Linked DNA regions of Homo sapiens: region 1 is linked to region 2. The links are contacts of gene promoters, found by promoter capture Hi-C in human tissues and cell types (Jung and others, 2019). All regions are on one chromosome and are shown on one strand. The core of a region is centred on a gene start or on the middle of the fragment in contact, and the rest is flanking DNA. Distances in the headings are between cores, read along the strand shown.

Region 1 (3,598 bases), core at 300-2,799, 75 kb before region 2:
ACAGGCTCTTTCCACTAGCAACACTCCCATGAGCACTGAATTCCATTTTCATCATGGCGTCACACAGATGCTCAACAAGTTCATTTCCCCTTCCCACTCCAACTTCCACACCATTTCAACTTTTTCATATTTCTTCCTTCACTTGAACCATCATGTTTTCACATAAGATTTTCCTCTAAAAAAAATGATTGGCAATGAATCCCAGCCCACCTCAACCCTGAGTGGTTAATTCCAGCTTGGAAGCCCATTTTTACCATTGGAGTCTTCCACTTCTTCAGCCGGGGTAGCTTTTTGGGAGGAGTGGTGGGAGTGTGAGGAGAGGAGACTGACGATCCGTGGCCTGGGGAGGGTCAGGGCTTTTCCGTGGACCTTGAGGGAGTGTTCCTTCAGCTGGCTGATTGTCATGGTGGAGAATGAGCACCAAGAACACTTGTAGGCATGCTCACCTGGAAGAGGATGGTGACAAGAAATAGAACAGGAAAAAGAGGGGAGAAGGGTATAAGGCCAGGGTGGAAACAAGATAACTCAGTTAACTCATGCTAGAGAAGCGCATCTCAAGCTTCATGTTCTATGAACGAACCTCACAGACCAACAACCTGCCACAACCACAGTACTCCTTTGGAGTTGAAACTCTTCCATGAGCTCCAGAATCTAGTGAACTGGTCCTTTTTCATTTTGGGCTCTGCTTACAGGAGTGAAGCTATGAATTAATTCCCCAATAGGAAGTCAAACCCAACTGCCCATGATACCTCCTTTAGAAAAATTTCCAATCCCTTTCCCTCCCTCTCTACACTAGAAATGACCATGTCAGGTTTCATTCAAGGTGGCCTTTTTGTCAGTCCCAGAAAATAACATGCTTAATTATTATTCCAAAGATCTATTAGTGGCTTTTTAATCACAAAGTCATTCAGTGCAAGCTCTGTTGTGCTATTCTATTCTGTACTTCCTTGCTAACTATACACATTCTCATCCCACATATATATATTTTTGGACCAGTTCATAAACCTCAGCATAGAACTCCATTTCCTTATCTAGTCAATAGCACAGAAATGGGTAAAAATAAGTCATTTCTCTAAGGAAGAGAGCTGTATATGTAAACATGGGGGTTTAGGGGGTACAGTGTGTGTGTTTATCTCCAATATTCTTCAATAAAGACTGCCTCTCAGTAAAAATAAGCACTACTTTTAAAATTAATTTTATGCCACTGAAATACAACACAGATCACCATGACCAAATTAAGTTAAAGTGTGATTTACCTTCGCCATATATTACCTGTTAAATTAATTACATTTTAAGAACTAAGAGTGTGAAGTGGGCAGGCTTAAATTGTTGGACATATATACACTGGTAAGATCAATTCAGAAAGCCATTTTGCTTTTAAGAACAATAGACTTAGAAATGCTCATGTTTCCAACCCAGTAACTCCATTTCAAAGAGTAATAAGAAGATATCCTTTAATAAATATAAAGTTTTACTTAGAAATATACATCATTTATGCTTGAAAAAGGTATGAAATAACCTAAATTTACAACCATAAGGAAAAGATTAAGTAAATCTGGGCATATCCTATTGATGATTTATTTTATTCAATTAAAATAAATTCTTGGAGTTTATAATAACATAAAAATAAAAGTAAATACAAAGGCTAAATATATATATTCAATTGCATTAGAATTACAACTATTAAAAATAATTACAGAGAAAATGACTGAAAGGAAATATATGAAATGTTAACAACAGTGGCGTTTAGATAACAAGATTATGAATGACTGTATTTCTTCTTTCATTTCCAAACTTTCTCTAATGAACATGTATTTTTAAAATTAATTTTTAAGGTGACATTTAAAACTCAGAGAAGAAAAAAGAGAAAACAGAATCATAAAGTTTTGTGGACCAGTGAAAATGAACAGAGGTGTGGTCTAAGGATTAAAAGTAAGAAAAACAGGTATTGGAAGATCATTCTTTGTCCCTACATTTCCGAGATTATTATTTTCCTGCCACCATGAAAATTACTAAATGGGTTCACATGTGAAGTGAGTATAGCATCCAAGTTCTGTAATTAAGCCTTCCTCTCACCACGGATGAATATATATATGACAATATATAGAATACTACTGCCCTCTTTATTCTATTTTTTCATTTTTTTCTTTTAATGCAAGCTTGGTTGTGTGAATATTGCTGGTGGCTGTGAGTTGCACGACCTGAGAGAGAATTCAAATCCAGATGTTTGGGTTAGCACACATTACCTTTTCTTCTTTAAAATAAAATAAAATAATCTATCTAGAAAAGACAAGATGAGTCAAGAGTCTTTCAGAAAAGGTACTGGCTTTTTCCAAGCCAAGCCCCACTCAGTCACTCAAAGCAATGTCATGGAGGCCAAGGTTCCAAGGTATGTCAAGAACTGAATTACACTGCTCCCAATCTCTCTTACTGGATGCTCTCTTCCTGCCAGCCAGTGAGTACAGGGAGGCCAGTTTTTTGGGTCAGTTCCAAGAGCAGACACTTCAGCTTAATACGCTGGCATCAGTGTGCAGGCTCTGATGCTCTCTTCAAGTCTTTCCCACAGGCCGAATCATCTCTTCCCAGCTCTCGCTGGTAAAAGTGCTTTTGACAAGGCTAAGGCCTATGGGCAAAACTCACCAGGATAGTGTCCCAGCTGGATAATTTACAATATACACAAGTTAGAAAACAGTGATTTGAACCCTGAAGCCACTCACTTCAAGGACTTTAGTAGAAATTTCCCAGAGACAGAAAAATACAAAAAGATAGAGAAAAGCCCCTATAGCTAACTTCCCTGTCCCATTCCTTACTCCTAGTGGAGTTTGAGGCAACTGGGAGACCTGGGTAATCTTACTGCATTAAGTCAGTTCAACAAAATCCAACACTCAGAAGACAATGAAGAGACATGGTCCTGTTTACACAGAGCATGAGGAGCTGGCGAAAGTGAAGGACCCAGGTTCTGAGCAGTTCTTACAACACTGTTCAAACTGTGACCAAGGGTTATACAAGGCACAAGGAATGTGACACAATGCCTCCCCTTTAGGACGATTATAGGACTAAAGAAGATGATGCATATAACACGCCTAGTGCACAGCCTGGTGGGTAAGGGTCATGACACATCAGACGTCAACAACAGTGGTCTTCAGATAAGATTATAGATGACTGACTGTATTTCTTCTTTCATTTCCAATTTTTTCTAATGAGTAATGAGATGGAACAACAATATGATAGAGACCAGCACAGCTGCTGGACACTCACAACCCAAAGTCATTTCTGTCTTATGTACGGAAACATATCTAAGGGTATCTCTTGAAAAATCTCACACATCTTGAGTTCCCTTTGCCCTTTCTAACTTCCTTAAGTTGGTAACTTTATTTTAGCTGGAAAGTCTTTTTAATAGATATAACAATTCTTGGCAATTGAATTAGAAAGTATAGGCAGTTTAGAAATTTCTGTAAAAATCACCAACAGTCTAATTCTAACTTGTCAGTAGGACGAACGAACTAACCATAACATGGGTGACATAGGCTTTGTATTATTTTGGATTTAGGTGATTTTGTTTAACTTTTACTTTTTTCTTTATTTTTTCTTTACTAGG
Region 2 (3,594 bases), core at 571-3,070:
CATCCATAATTTTATAAACACTTCTCATCTCAGCTTTGTCTCCTGGAAACCCGCTCTCCTCCATTTTCTGGTGGAGTTACAACATGACACGGCTTACCTGACTCAGTTCCCAGCTCTTAACCAAACTAGTCACTTCCTCCAAAAACCTGCAAGCAACCTCCAGAAACAAAACCAAAGCAAACCAAACAGCCAACACAGACACTCAGACACAGCCCCCGGGAGCCCTGGGAGAAAGCCCCAACTGGTTGGTCTTTCCCCATCCCAGACGCGTGCTTAAAAATGAAACTTTTTTTTTTCTTGGTTGGGGAGGAATATAAAAGGAACTCCAGGCAGCCTCCCTCCCTCCCTCTCTGTAGGTTAGAAGCCACAATGAAAAGAAAACGAGGGTTCCTTCAGGAATGGTGAACAGCCTGGAGAATGAACGTGAGAAGGAGCTTTGTGTTTTGGAGTCTGGACTGGAACCAAAGCAGACAGCTTGCAAATGGAGGACAGGGAGATAAAGAAAGGGAAAGAGGGGCTGCTCCAATGGGGGGCGGCTGCGGCTTCCCCTCGTGCCTGGAAGGAGGGCAGACCCCTGGGAACTGCACCAGGAGTGAGACGCCCCCCCAGGCCCCTGCCTTCCTTTCTCCCTTCCTCAGAGGAGAGCCAAGCGTGTGTAATGGCTTCTCCTCTCCAGAAACCGTTGTCCTCCTCCACCAGACGCTTCTGAACCTCCAGCCTGGAGACAGCTCCTCAGCCGCTCCTGAACCTGCGCCCCCCACCCGGCCGGTGCCCCCCGCTCCTCGCCTCTCTGTTCACCAGCAGCACCGGCACCAGCAGCTGCAGCAGCCACCCCCCGACACATCCCGACCCCGCATCCCAACTTCGGGGAGAGGGAGAGAGAGAGAGAGAGAGAGAGAGAGAGAGAGAGAGAGAGAGAGAGAGAGAGAGAGAGAGAGAGAGAGAGCCAAATACCTGAGGAAGAGGGGGGCTGCCAATCCGCACGGCTTTGCCATCGGGCGGGGGACAGGCAGACAGAAGGGGGAAAGGAAGGAGAGGGACAGAGAAAGAAAGAGGTCAACCCGCTCAGGTCGGGGCCGCTCGCACGGAGCTCTCCCTCCTCTGACCCTCGCTCGCTCCCTCTGGCTCTCGGCTCAGGTCTCCGGCCTCCCGCCCTCCGCCCCCCTCTGTCCCTACTCCTGTCCCCACACTCGGAGCATCCGTCCTAAGCCTCCAGCTCTCTTCTCACTCATCTTTCATTTTCTCTTCTCTTCATAGAACTACACGAAATTAATTAAGCCACCGCGCTCACTCCCCCCAGCAGGAGCAGCAGCCAGCAGGAAAAGCACAGCCACCTCCACTGCCACCACTACCACCTTCTCCTCCTCTTCCTCCTCCTCCTCTTCCTCCCTCGCTTCTCCTCCTCCTCTTCCTCCTCCCCCTCCTGCTCTCCCTCCTCCCCCTCCTCCTCTTCTCTCTCGCTTCTTCTCCTCTTCCAACAGCCAGTCCATGCAGGGGACTTCCTCTCCTCCCCGCTCCTCCAACCCTCCTTGGCCGAATGAATGAGCGCGTTTGTGCCTCCACCACCCCGCGCTCTCTTCCCCGGAGCACTCGGACCACCCCGAGGTGGTTGTTAATTGCAGTAACTTACAGAAGAAGCGTCCCGGCGCCGGGAGGTGCTTCGGGTTCTCCAGCCCCACCGCCTCCTTATCCTCTTTCTCTTTCTCCTCTTCCTGCTCGGGTTATTGTTGTGGAAGTTGTTTGGGAGTCTCATGTGCTTCTGCCGGGTCTCAGCAATGGAGGATCGCCATCTTCCCTGCCTTCCTCGGCTCCTCAGACTCGCTGCAGCTGCAGATGACCTGAGATATCCGTCTCTCTCCCTCTCTCTCTCTCTCCCTCCCTCCCTCTCCCTCTCACTCTCTCTCTCCCCTCTCTCTCCTCTTCTCTCTCCTCTCCTCCCTCTCCCTCGCGCGCTCTCTCTCTCTCCCTCCCTCTGTGTCTCTCTCTGAATAATGAGCAACCAGGGGGAGAGAGAAAGCAAGACAGAAAGAGAGAAGGAAGACAATCTTCTCCTGCCACACAAAACGCCGGAGCACCAGGGGGTGCGCGAAGCCTTTCTAATAACAACAACAACGTGCAGCAGAGAGGAAGGAAAAAAAGAAAGAAAGAAAGAAATGAGGAAAAAGGCTAGGGGAAAAAAGAGGAAGAATTATCCAAGAGCTCGAGAAGAGCAGAAGGAGAAGCTGGAGGAGATGCTGAGGCTGCTGCTGCTGTTCCCCCTCCCCCCTGCTGAACCCCAGAAGGAGGCAAGGTGGTTGCAAAGTTAAGGCTGGGACATTGTCTTTGTCACTCAGAGCCAGGCCAGTGAGATGCAAGAGGAGGAGGTGGCGGCGGCAGAGGAGGAGGAGGTGGTGGTGGAGGAGGGGGAGGAAGAGGAGGAGAAGGAGGCAAAGGAGAAGGAGGCAAAGGAGAAGGAGAAGGGGAAGAGGGAGATGAGATGATGAATAAAGACCTGCGGAGAAGGCGGTGCGAGGAGCGCGGCCGCCGGGCCGAGGCGTGCGCGCTCGCGTCCCGGTGGCGCCCGGCAGCCCTGGCCCGCAGAGGAAGCCCCCGGTGAGGACCCTGCCCGGCAGCTCATAGCGCTCCCAACGTCAGCCCTGCCCGAGGCGCCGAGCCCGAGCCCCAGAGGGTCCCTTACTTGCATCCATCTAGAGGCCAACCTTTGCAAAGAACATACGTGGGGAACTGGAGGTTGCAAGTATAAACCCAGATCAACCACGTGGGGCTTTTTAATCCCTTTCCAGCTTGCGGTGTGAGTATTTCCAGTGAAAAGCTCAAATTGTCCATTACTGGCACGTATTTTGAAGTCTTCTCTCCTGAAATAAAGGCTCATTGTGCGTTTTATTTCTTTCCTGATATGGAAGGTGGGGGGGTGGAGGAGGAAAAGAGCCCATCATTCCGAGCTTCGGAACCACCACTTTCTTTTCCTAACTTGTGAAATGTTTTGACTGCGCACCAAAAGAAAAAAAGAACGCCTGCTTAAATAACTTTACACCCTCCAGCCCCGCGTTGTTTGCACTTTCTGGCTGATCATCTAAAGGCTCGGAAAGTAACAATCAGCGCTCTTAATGATAAGGTGTCATGGTGTTGAAGACACGCGAGCCAAGATGAAGCTTTCACACCTTGAATTTTTATTTAGTGTAATCTCTCCCGTATCATTCTGAACTATCTCTTTTGCAAAGGAGTGGTTCCCCCCCTCCACCACCAGGTCGAAAGTCTCCTACGGTTTTAATTGGACTGGGAGCGGTGGGGGTTGGGGATGGGGGTTCTACAGTATCAAAAAAATCAATGCAGCAAGTCAGGAGCAATTGAAGTTCAAGGGCATGGGCTGATTGTACCATTTCTATTTCTTGGATCTTGGAGTTGGACATCAACAGCCTCAGGAGAGAGAAACGCGCAGCGCGCGGGGCAGAAAGAGACCTTAATTAAAGTTTCTTTTGTCCGCGTCTGAATTGGGGATGTTGCTGGATTCCTTTGCATTGAGGAGCGCGCATCCGGTGAAGGCGCGGTGTTAAGGATCCTGGGCAAGTCTGTCCTCTTTAAATACTCGCCCTT

The links. The method cuts DNA at HindIII sites, captures the fragments that hold promoters and counts their contacts. A contact is called where the count stands out against the background at its distance.
Region 1: a fragment that was not itself captured here is called in contact with the fragment with the promoter of ZNF462 in region 2 in 2 of the 25 tissues and cell types used here (dorsolateral prefrontal cortex and hippocampus).

The regions. Positions count from the first base shown.
Region 1 is chr9:106,935,764-106,939,361 of GRCh38, reverse strand. ZNF462 (zinc finger protein 462) reads right to left here. Exons shown (of 13, transcript NM_021224.6): 7 at 255-446. Among named protein-coding and RNA genes, the nearest start is that of ZNF462, 74 kb to the right of the region's middle. The HindIII fragment of the contact is 3,261 bases long and covers 1-3,179 here.
Region 2 is chr9:106,861,392-106,864,985 of GRCh38, reverse strand. ZNF462 (zinc finger protein 462) reads right to left here and starts at 1,820. Exons shown (of 13, transcript NM_021224.6): 1 at 1,631-1,820. The HindIII fragment of the contact is 13,314 bases long and covers 1-3,594 here.